Regions from separate parts of the Homo sapiens genome. Here all the other regions are linked to region 4. Evidence: promoter capture Hi-C in 16 types of primary human blood cells and fetal thymus (Javierre and others, 2016). All regions are on one chromosome and are shown on one strand. Each heading gives the region's core, a stretch centred on a gene start or on the middle of the fragment in contact. The rest is flanking DNA. Distances are from core to core; before and after follow the strand shown. Region 1 overlaps GTPBP8 (GTP binding protein 8). Region 2 overlaps ATG3 (autophagy related 3). Region 3 holds the start of CCDC191 (coiled-coil domain containing 191). Region 4 holds the start of SPICE1 (spindle and centriole associated protein 1).

Region 1 (2,700 bases), core at 13-2,512, 520 kb after region 4:
GCCAGAGAATCATTTTATGAAGTGAGGAGCAAGAAAAGACCTAGTGAAGTCTCATGGAAGGGTTCCAACTCAATGAAAGGGGTGTGTGTGCGTTCGTGCACGCACATACACAGGGATAGTGAACATTAGGGTTGGTGGAAAGGTTTACCATGGCCAGATATGGTGAGACAAAGTGGGGGTGATTTTGAAGAAAGGGTATCTTAGATATTGGCAGAGACTGCGTCGTTGAGAAGAAAGTAGAGGGAATTAGAAAATGAAAGAAAGCTATTACAGCAGACTGGCTAGGAAAACAAGCACATAAGAATATGCCGAATGTGTGTGTGTAACTAATCACGTACTTTATACCTTAAAAAAGATTATAGGAGGAAAAAAGCAAGAAAAACCTAAAAGCCATTTACCGTACAATCAGTGTAGAACTAGATGATCACTGTTATAGGAGGAAATATAGAATGACAATAAGACACTTTATTTGGCAACTCTGCAAAATTTGGATAAAGAAAGACTTTCTGAAGATATTGTCTAGACTACTAAAATAAATCCAGCTACACTTCCTTTTCTTCAGAGGAATACACAGGCATTAGGATGTCTTACTTTATTACTTTTTTGAAAGAAATCACTTCTCTAGGAACTTAGTAATTATGATTTCTTATACCTTCCAGCATTTATTATTCATGTTAGTTAATCCAAGAGATAGTCCAAACATATTTAAAAACTTCAACATACTGGTTTTTTGGAGACTCTGACTTCAACCTCAGGGGCCAGTGAAAATAAAGCCTTGATTAGAGATGATTTTCCAACATTGCTTCTGCCTATAAAACACACCTTATACAAGAAAAAACAAGATAAGTACGTACTAGCTGTATATGCTATTCTGCATTAGATGTAAAAAACTTCAAATTCTAACACAGCTAATATTTATTGAATGAATTAAATGTGCCAGGTACTATTTTAAGCATTCAGCATATATTTTCTTATTCATTTTTTACAGCATCTAGGAGGTAGGTGATATTATCCCCATTTTACGGATGAGAGAACACAACTAACCCAAAATTATACAGCTAGAAAGTGAAGGAGTTGGGATTTGAACTCAGGACATGTATATCTAGAATCTGTGCTTTTAGTTTCACTACGCTACTCAAGAATATATGCAACTTTTATTAAGCATTTCATATTTACAAAGCTTTTTAGAGTAAAAACTAGATGTAGTTCAACAGAACTAGATGAAAAGTACAACTACATGTTTGGAAGCACATTTTCTCAAGCACTCCCATGGTATACTGTAACACCACTGCAATTTAAAAACTTACTCTTTTCCCTTGACCTCTCTTGTTCCAATTAAGCTTGTCTCCTCTGTAGTGTGGAAAACAACAGAATATTCTCGATAATAACCATTAATACACATGGCTCTGCTTTTGAACATGGTATTGGGGGAGGGGGTACAATGCCAATCAGTTGTTCTAAATGACGGCCGTACTGCCCCTTGAGGGACATTTTGGAGATTTTAAGGGCATTTTTGGTTATCAAGACAATTGGGGGACATTTAGTGGGCAGGGGCCAGGGATCCTATCCTGGAAAATTCTGGTCAGTTCTTCAAAATTAATTGATCTGAGTCCTGCAAAAATTTTAAATGCTCTGCCAGAGCAAATCTAATGCTAATATGTAGATAAAACTGAATTTTAAAAACGAATTACAAAAAAGTCCAGTAATTTAGAAGCTTAAATAAAAAAGCAATGGCTGTCTCAAAATCATTAAATAATTGAGGTACTCTTTGAATCCTGACTATAGTTCCACATATATTTAGACGAAATATCTCTGGGCAATGGTGCACTTAGTGTAAATACATATGGAGAGTTGAGATGCCTTTTAGCAGACTTAGAACAGAATATCAATAAATTGTAGGACATGCAAGAATGCTCACTCATGAAATTTCACTAATAAACGTTGTTATAAAAATTTTTCCACATTATTGCCATCTAGAGATTATTATTTTTGCACGATAGGAAATTTAGATTAGGCGAAAGTTACTTATTGATAAGGACCATCTCATTTGTGAAACTATTATTCGTTTCCTATTCTTCACTGTCTAAATTCTGTCTAATTTGTCTGGCATGTTTTCCCTACTTAAGTTAAATAGAAGAAAAAAGGAGAGTTAATTTTTTGAATGCTTAATTTGGGTTTGAAAAGCTTTTAAAGCATTTTGAAGTCTTCTATATTCATTCCAAAATAATTTAAGCTGTATACAGGCAGTCTCTGCTTACAGTGGGTCGACTTAACGATTTTTGACTTTACCATGGGTTTATGGGTATTGACTGCATTTTGTACTTAACAATGGGTTTCTCGGGTATCCCCACGTACAGGGAGCATCGACATATGCCTATTGAGTTAAAATAATATATGCGCCAACATAAAGCTAGAAAATACAACCGCAAAATCACCCGCGAGCCGGACGGCCAGGGAAGCGGTTAGCGCTGTGACGCCGGCGCGCAGGTGAACCGTGAGAATCGCCTCTCACCTCTGGCCGCGGAAGGTCCGGGGCGTGGTCGATACGGACGGCGGAGCTGACGTAGTCGATGCGGTTCCGTTCAGTGGCCGTGAAGATGTTGTCCGCCCTGGCTATGTCCTCCGGGCTTGGGTCAAAGATACGCAGGTGAAGGTCTTGCCTCCCGTAGGGGGCGAGGAACCGCTCTACTTCCTGCAGCG
Region 2 (2,817 bases), core at 84-2,583, 960 kb after region 4:
TGAAATACCTTAATATGCTAAGAATAGTGGAGAGTTTTGCTTTGCTCCCTTTCCATGACAAAGGGAAGTACTAGGTCTATACTTTTTAAAATACGTTTTTGTAAAGCTCCTTTTAAAAGAATAACTTATTGGCCAAGTAAGAAATAAACCAGCGATTATAAATGAGAATTTCAACTGTTGCTTTGCTTACATTTGTTTACTGTGAAAGTCATTTTAAGATTATTCAGTCAAACTAAGATTGGAAAATAATTTTCACATTTGAATCAAATGCTTTTACATAATTATGTTAACTTTTCAGAATATCATATCTACCTAGGTATACAGTATTTTAATAATACACCATTGTACAACTTTTTAGTTTCCGGGAGAGAGGAGCAAGAGACTGCCCAAATGAAATATAAAATGTATGATGTAGAATTATGTTTTCAGGAGTCCATCATACTTGCTCACCAAACTGAAAAGGAACTGTTGGCATGTCAGTATGTATGGTATATGTCTTTAGTAAAAAGGAAAGAATGAATGACCGTCTCCTTGATACTCCTGTGCAAACTGTTGTTTACAGAGAGAATCCTTACAGTTTCCTGCTTAGGGAGGGCAAGGAGAAAGAACAAAATCCTCAGGAAATAAGTAATAGCCTTCTCCTAGCAAGTAAAAATTAAGAAAAATCATGTTTTGTTTGGAGTATGTACATGCAGTAAACACTGAAGTTCTTACAATCATCTCTAAGGTTCTGCTTAATTGGTAGAGGCCCCAATCTCATCTGCTCCATCCCCTGACTGCTGTTGCTTAAGCTAACCTGATCTCTTTATTATTCTGTTAAGCACACTCTTGGTTTGGGGTTTTGCATGTGCTCTTCCCTCTATCTGAAACGCGCTTCGCACTTAACAGCCTTATGGCATGTTCCTTTCCTTAAGGTTTTTAAGTCATTATTCAGTGAAGTCTTTGTTCTCTTACCATTCTATTTTAAATGGCCATCTCTCCCCAGCCACCCCACAGATTCCTCTCAGCTTCATTTTTCTTTATGGTATGTTATTCATTACCATTTGGCTTTTCTTCCTCAACTGGAGTTGAAACTCCTTATGAGGGCAAGAATAAATTTGTATTTATGTTATTCACCCCCAAATATCCCCACTGCCTCAAATAGTGTCTGGCACATAGTAAACATTTGTTGAATGAATAATGTTTATAAATGAGTGTTTTCATTTTTGTAGACTCTACCAGAAAATCTTACATATAACTTAAAGTTTAGAAAAATTTAGAGAATAGTGTGTCAGTATCTTGGTGGAGATGAGAATTAGAGGAAAATGCTAAATAATTTCTAGATTTGGTTTCTAACATTATTCAGTTTAAATAAGACTGGCTGAATTGTAAGATGTCTAAACATCTTTAAGACATTTTTGCTGTGCTGTAAAATAAAGGTATTTGTTCATTTCACAGAATCACTGTAAGGCTTTATTTTTATTTAAATCTTAGAATGTTTGTACATAGAGCTTGGCCGGGCGCAGTGGCTCACGCCTGTAATCCCAGCACATTGGGAGGCCGAGGCGGGTGGATCACCTGAGGTCAGGAGTTCGAGACCAGCCTGACAAACATGGAGAAACCCTGTCTCTACTAAAAATGCAAAAATTAGCCGGGCATGGTGGCACATGCCTGTAATCCCAGCTACAGGCAGGAGGCTGAGGCAGGAGAATCGCTTGAACCCGGGAGGTGGAGGTTGCCGTGAGCCAAGATGGCGCCACTGCACTCCAGCCTGGGCAACAGGAGTGAAACTCCATCTTAAAAAAAAAAAAAAAGAATGTTTCTACATAGAGCTTTACTCTATTATAGCACTGATCTGATAGTATTATAATTATTTTCATGTCTGTTTCCTACATTAGACTTGTATATTCCTGTGGTCATTACCAGTGAGTGAAACAGATAGATAGATATAGATAGATACCAATGAGGTAGGTAGATAGGTAGATTAGATAGATTATAGATTAGATAGATAGACTAATTTTTTTTTGTATGTGCTCTATTGCCTAGAAGGGCACCAGGCAAATAATTGCCCCCAAAATATATTTAATTGATAGTGAAACATGATATAATATTGTTTTTCTTTCTGCTTTTTTTAGGAATCAAAGTTTAAGGAAACAGGTGTAATTACCCCAGAAGAGGTGAGTGCTGAAGATATACTGAAGTCTTTTTATTTTACAATAATACTAAACTAGGTGGCTTTTCTGCTTCATAAGAAAACATCTTGAACTTTAATTTTGATTTGAGTAAAATTAGGTTTTATGACTGTGATTTATGGGAATTTCTACTTCCCATAGAAGAAAAGATGTAACTTCCCCGTCAGTTTGCCACTTCTCATATTTCTCTGTAGTTCCTCTTTATTTAGAAATGAGGGTGAAAGAAGGGATCAAAATGAGTCCTATGTCACTTATCCTTGACTTGTATTGGTGTTATATTGAGCTGTGCAGTAAGCTCTGTAATGTCTGTGGTGTCTTGGTTCTGTTTACATCAAATGTGAGTTTTCATGCTTTTCATTGGAAAACTTTGCTTACTACTTAGATATTGTTTTCTCTTAAGAGTTCTATTTCGTTGTCGGTGGAGAAGTAAATACTGGGCTAAAAACCTTTTCAGGCTCCAATTTTATGAATAATTATGGTTTTATCAGACTTAGGTTGTTCTTAATAAGAGACAATTTATTTAAGCTTGAATTTTTTTTTTTCTGCCAATGAAAACACCACTTTTTGGCAATAGAACTTTATTCACTGTTTTGAAACAAACGTTTTAAGCCTTATTTTATGATAAGGCTGCTGCTGTTAAGGTCCA
Region 3 (2,855 bases), core at 13-2,512, 540 kb before region 4:
TTTGGTCAGGGTTTGCTTTTACAAAAATGGAAACATATTATACTATAATATATGCACTTCTCTGCAATTTGCTTTTCTCTCAAGAATAAACATTAGACGTCTTTCCTGAAGAAGAGACATAAAGCTAACTTACCCTTTTGAAAAAAACTACTTCGTGGTACTGCATAGTTTGTATGAGCACAATTTATTCAACCGCCTTTCAGACAGACCAGTTACAGAGCTGGTCCTAGGATCGCTGCAACAGTCCGAGGGCATAGCTTCCCTAACTTCATTTTCACCAATTTCAAATCAACTTTAGTTTACATTTCCTGGCAGAATGCTTCACATACATTTATTTTTAATCATTACAACACTCCAGTGATTCAGGTATTATCGTCCCCATTTTGCATGAGAAAACAGGGTCTCTGAGTTATTAAACAAGTTGCCTAGGGTCATATAGCCACAAAGTAGTTGAATTCAAAACTCCTGTTCTAAATCTTTACTCTGCTTTATAAGCCCATTTATCACCCCTAAATGGGCTGTCTCTGGAAACACCTCGGCTAAGCCAATAAGCCTGGATTTATCTTTGCTCCATGGGCCATCTCCATGGCCCCAGACCTCCCTAGGCACCTGGCTCAGAGATTGAAGACGGTCCCACCCTCCCATGGGCAGTTCGGAATAAAAACTTCCTGAAAACTCTACCTTTCAGCAGAGGCTAGTCGAAAGGGGCCCTTTTATCTCAGAGGTGTCGGCGACGCTCACACGATTTATGAGAATCTGAACTTACAGAAACCAATCCACCAGGACACCCTGAAAAGGGAAGCAGAGGAGACATGGCGGGAGTACAATCACCGTTACTGCAACACAACCAGGAAGCGTCTGGACGCGACGTGACTCATCCATCTCTAGCAGCTCCCACACCAGCAGGGCAAAGGGGCACTTACCTGCCAACAAACCATTCGACTCTTTCAGTCTTCAGACCCCTCAAACTCCTCACAGTTCACTACCACGTGTTGCAAAATTCTCTGCCCCAAAATCACTGCCTCCAGTGCAGAGCCAATCAGGGAGTACTGCGTCATCACTGGGCGCCAGAAAAAAAGCAAAGCCGACATTCAAGCGAGCCTTGATGACGGCAAGAGCGAGGGACCTCTGCCGTTGCTATGGTAACTGAGCCAACGCGAGCGGCCTGCGCAGAGCCTCGTGGGAGTGGTGGTTCGACGGTGTCCTATGCCTGCTTTCCTTGCGGGCGGAGGAACTACAATTCCCAGCGTGACCCGGAGGCAGCCCGGGCAGAAGGGCGGTTGCTGCAGCTTTGGCCGAGGTTCGGGCTCGAACTTGGAAAATGCTCCTGGCGCCTCAGGGAAGGTCCTTCTCAAAGAAAAGGATGGGGCTGAATCGCTGGAAACGGTTCACAAGGAAGCCGAGTCCCAAGGTGATCCCAATCGAGAGCTTTGGAGGGCGGGGACTTTCCCAAGGCGCGGCGCAGTCAGGAAGCCAGTCGCGGCCCGTCTGTGCTTCCTGCCTCTTCATCCTGAGCTGACACGCCCCTGCCTTGACCGCCCCAAAGCCAGCATTACCCTGAGTGAAATGCTCTAGGAGCTCTGGGGTCTGGGCACATTACGGCTTTGGTGGGCAGCATCGTGGAAGAACTGTTTGTAACGCTTTTCTAAAACCGGAGGTGTCTGCTAATGCCCATCGGGGTGAAAGGAGTTTGCAAACTCCGTTCCCCCTACCTTAAATTTTAGGAAACTTCTCGCACATTTCTTTCTTTTTCTCTCTCTTTTTTTTTTTTTGCAAATCTTGGGGTAATTGATCTTTATTAACGGGAGAGAGCTTCACATTAAATACCCTGCCTATATTCCTGCCCCTTCACTTTTACGTAAAGTATCTAAATAAACTCAGGAGTGCAAATGGATATTGAATACATTAATACTTGATTCACATAGTAATTTCTAAATTCAACCAACTTTCAAAAAATAGATTCTCTCCGTATCTATCACCCATTTGGATGCATTAGCACCTGAAGATAAGAAAAAAATAATAACCCCATTTTAAACTTGAAACATATGTGACATGTGCAAAGTCACAGTTGCACCGTGTGCTTTCCACAGACTACCTTTTTAACAGTCCCCAAAAAGATGCTTAAAATCTAAATGAGAGTACTAAAATGGAGAAGCTTCTCAGCTTTCAGCTACAGAGCAGTTTCACCAGCTGTTTTCACCCTTAAGTTATACTTTCCTAAATAATATTCTGTAGATGTATGTGGCCTTTTTGAGGGCCCCAGGCGATTGTTCTTGCGATTTATTCTAAATTTACCAGCTAAATGCATTGGACATATTCCACATGACAAATATGTTGCCCTAGATACTAGAGGGCACAGACTGAAGCATCAGGGAGACTTGGAAACTGAGGCTGCTGCTATTTCAATACATCAGTTGCATAATGTATTGGATCCAAGATAGGATATAGATATGGACTTGATGATGAAAGGTAAAAATTTAGAATAATTTCTTAGGACTCCAAAAGGAAGGATTTTTGCTGCTAGTGCTCATTATTACTGCCTAGAGAAAAAAAGGTAAAAACATAGGGCTTCTTCAAGTTCAGTTGTATTTTAATTAGATCAGCTCTTTCTTTGTTGCAGTGACAAAATTATTAAGCAGTACAGCTGCGTTAGTTATCAGTAAGATGCTTTGAAGGTAAAGTGTTAGGTAAGTGAAAGAGTATTATATTTTTCCCACCTCCATGTGTCAGTATGCTAGTTTAGATATCCCCTTATTTTATTATTATTATTATTATTATTATTTTAAAGAGTATATTTGAGTAAGAAGCAATTCATGAACTGGGAACGCCAAACCAAAAGAGATTTAGTGCTCCAA
Region 4 (2,954 bases), core at 96-2,595:
GGAAATTGTCTTACCAGAGCAAATAAACTCTGTTTTTGAATCAAGTGCTTTGTAAAGTTCTTAACGTGGTCCACGCAGCTCTGACTGTCGTGGATCCAGCCTATCAGGGCGCCTCCCCTTCACAGCAAGTTCCCACTGTTCTCTAAACTTCAGACACACTGGACCTCTTCCTGTCCCTTGCATTTTCCACATCTTTGCACATGCAGCTCCCTCTGCAGGAATGCTTTCCCCTTCCCCACTGGCCTATTCATGTCTGAGCTTTCCTGAGTAATTCAAATATTACTATAATAATAAGCTAAGTATTTGGTTAGAGTGCTTCCTTCTTAGCACTCGTCATAATTTTAATGTTTTTGTCATTGATAACTGTCTGTTAATATGCTGTAAGTTTCCCACCTTGCCTGTTTTTAGCCCCATAGAACCTAGCTCTCCCGCACATTTGTAGGTTGTAATAAACAACTTTTTTTTTTTTTTTTGAGACAAGGTCTTGCTTTGTCGTCCAGGCTGGAGTGAAGTGGTATGACTGTGGCTCACTACAGCTTTGCCCTCCTTGGCTCAAGCGATCCTCGCACCTCAGCTTCCTGAGTAGCTGGAACTACAGGCGTGTTCCCACGCCCAGCTAATTTTTTAATTTTTCGTAGAGACGGGGTTTCGCCATCTTGCCCATGCTTGTCTCAAACTCCTGAGCTTAAGCAATCCTTCTGCTTCTGTCTCCAAAAGTGCTGGGATTCCACTACTAAAGATTTGTAAACAAATGAATAGAGATGAAAGCAAATTAAGTGATATGTGAAGTCTGGTGAGGAGAGCAACATCTTTCTTTTGGAGAATTCTCGAGGCACCGGCTAATGCTATATGCCTATTCTTTTTTTTTTTTTTTTTTTTTTGAGACGGAGTCTCGCTCTTTCGCCCAGGCCGGACTGCAGTGGCGCCATGTCGGCTCACTGCAACCTCCACCTCCCAGGTTCACGCCATTCTCCTGCCTCAGCCTCCCGAGTAGCTGGGACTACAGGCGCCCGCCACCTGGCCCGGGTAATTTTTTGTATTTTTAGTAGAGACGGGGTTTCACCGTGTTAGCCAGGATGGTCTCGATCTCCTGACCTCGTGATCCGCCTGCCTCGGCCTCCCAAAGTGCTGGGATTACAGGCGTCAGCCACCGCGCCCGGCCTGCTATATACCTATTCTTTAATAATTTGCCCTGAACCTTGCAGAGGAACCTCTCTCCCTTAGACTCAGGACCCGAGATAGGCTTTGGGAGGCGCCTGCGCACTGGGCTCGCCGGATATACGCAAGGGCGTGGGGCGGAGCTCTGGTAACCCAGGCAACAGCCCGGAAGCCGCTGGCTGGGTTAACCTGTGGCGCGCTCCGCGGTTCCGGCGCCTGAAGTTTTAGCTGCGGTGGCGGCGGCAGTCGGGACCGACTGCAAGGCAGGTTGAGATGATGGATCTGAGGCTTGCAGCTCGCAGTCCCAACGAGCCTTAGGGACCAGGGCTACCAAAAGGGTGGGGAGAACGGTGGTGGCATCTGTCTGTTGCCTGGGATCCAGGCGCCCGGTTGGGGAATCCTTACTTCAGGAAGCGCAGCCGCGGCTCTGTGTTTTGAGAGTGCAAGTACGTGTCAGGGTGCGTGTCTGGGTATGTTTGTGCGTGGCGCCAGAGCACCTCGAGTATGCGCGTGCGCACCGCTTTCGGGAGCTTTTGCACAGAGCTGGTAATTGGGGGTGCTCGATTGTAGCGTTGGGGGAGTTCACCGTGTAGCAGGAGAGAGGCAAACTATCCAGGGTGCTTTGGGACCGGGAGCGTCATTTAAATCGATGGATGTCAGAGGGGCTTCTCAGAAGGCTCCTCCTGTGAGTTTTGAGGAGTCCGTGGAAGTTAACCCAGTAGAGAAGAGAGTGAGCCTAATGAGTGTTCCAAGCAGAGGGAAAAGAATGGTTGCAACTGTGTGTGAGGCGAGAGCTTGGTTTTAGGATTTGCGGGAGATGTGAGAGAACACTGGAAAGAAAAGTCAGCCGGGCCATATGGGGGAGAGGGTCTGAATGCCAAGCTGAGTTGGATTGCTTTTGACAGTGGGGAGCCATCCGAATCTAGAGGAAGTAGGTAAAGGGTTCAGATCTATTCTCTATCCATGTATTTAGGTAGGATTGATTCAACAGTGTTTGGAAAGAGTTCTTGTTTCTCTTTGATCAGTTTTCCACACCAGTCAGAGTGGATTTACTAAGTCCAGTCATAACTATCCCTTTTAAAATTCTTCAGTGGTTTCCTATGGTCTTAGGTGTTCAGATTGCTGTGGCTCACAAGACTACAATCTGCTGTCTGCCTTTCTTCCTTTAACCTCTCACCCTCTCAGATCTTTGTTAATTGAACTGAACTTCTCAAACTCTTCGTAAATGCATTTTCCCTTGCCTGGAATATTCTTTCCCCTGCTTCTAACTTTTATTCGTATTTTAGCTCTCAGTGCAAACATTTTTGGGGGTATTACAGAGAGGAGAAGCTTTTACTTACTGCATAGAGTTAGTTAGGTACTTTCATGGCACACAGAATTTACTTCCCATGCTGCCCTTTTGTTGTAAATACTTGTTTAATTGCGGTCCTCTTAGAAACTCTTAACTCTGCAAGGGCATAGACTATTCTACTTTCTTGTTATATCTGGTGCCTCGCTTTTAGATGGTGCTTCAAAATATTAGTTACATTAATAGATGGATGATGAAGTCAGTGAGTGAAGAGTGAAAGGGAGACTAATTAGAATAATGAGAGCCTGAACAAAAATATTTTTAGTAGAGATGGAGAAGAGCGGGCAAGAGAGATTTTTAGGGAAAAAGTTAATAGATTCTGTTATCTGATTCACTAAGAGATAAGGAACAGAGGTGATGCTGAGGTTTTAAATTGGAGCAACTAGGATTGTAATTCTGTAAATTCAGCTTAATTGAACATATTTATCGAGTCAACCAGTTATATATC

What was found. Contacts are between HindIII fragments. The CHiCAGO score rates a contact against its expected background, and 5 or more counts as called.
Region 1: a fragment that was not itself captured here is called in contact with the fragment with the promoter of SPICE1 in region 4 in 1 of 17 cell types (fetal thymus); the score reaches 5.8 in fetal thymus.
Region 2: a fragment that was not itself captured here is called in contact with the fragment with the promoter of SPICE1 in region 4 in 1 of 17 cell types (fetal thymus); the score reaches 6.1 in fetal thymus.
Region 3: a contact is called between the fragment with the promoter of CCDC191 here and the fragment with the promoter of SPICE1 in region 4, in 1 of 17 cell types (non-activated CD4 T cells). The highest score is 5.3, in non-activated CD4 T cells.

The regions. Positions count from the first base shown.
Region 1 is chr3:112,991,148-112,993,847 of GRCh38, reverse strand. GTPBP8 (GTP binding protein 8) reads right to left here. Exons shown (of 6, transcript NM_014170.4): 1 at 2,513-2,700; 2 at 724-822. Among named protein-coding and RNA genes, the nearest start is that of GTPBP8, 1.5 kb to the right of the region's middle. RefSeq lists enhancers at 2,607-2,700, 2,695-2,700. The HindIII fragment of the contact is 160 bases long and covers 1,183-1,342 here.
Region 2 is chr3:112,557,715-112,560,531 of GRCh38, reverse strand. It overlaps ATG3 (autophagy related 3), which reads left to right. Exons shown (of 12, transcript NM_022488.5): 2 at 2,115-2,156. Among named protein-coding and RNA genes, the nearest start is that of ATG3, 2.8 kb to the left of the region's middle. The HindIII fragment of the contact is 2,731 bases long and covers 1-2,698 here.
Region 3 is chr3:114,054,933-114,057,787 of GRCh38, reverse strand. It overlaps CCDC191 (coiled-coil domain containing 191), which reads left to right and starts at 1,262. Exons shown (of 17, transcript NM_020817.2): 1 at 1,262-1,411. The coding sequence starts at 1,322. QTRT2 (queuine tRNA-ribosyltransferase accessory subunit 2) reads right to left here and starts at 1,051. Exons shown (of 10, transcript NM_024638.4): 1 at 924-1,051; 2 at 682-789. RefSeq lists an enhancer at 1,111-1,520. The HindIII fragment of the contact is 7,070 bases long and covers 1-2,157 here.
Region 4 is chr3:113,513,547-113,516,500 of GRCh38, reverse strand. SPICE1 (spindle and centriole associated protein 1) reads left to right here and starts at 1,345. Exons shown (of 18, transcript NM_144718.4): 1 at 1,345-1,604. It overlaps SPICE1-CFAP44 (SPICE1-CFAP44 readthrough (NMD candidate)), which reads left to right and starts at 1,345. Exons shown (of 52, transcript NR_183050.1): 1 at 1,345-1,604. RefSeq lists enhancers at 3-52, 113-162, 673-722, 1,429-1,478, 1,539-1,658. The HindIII fragment of the contact is 3,693 bases long and covers 1-2,489 here.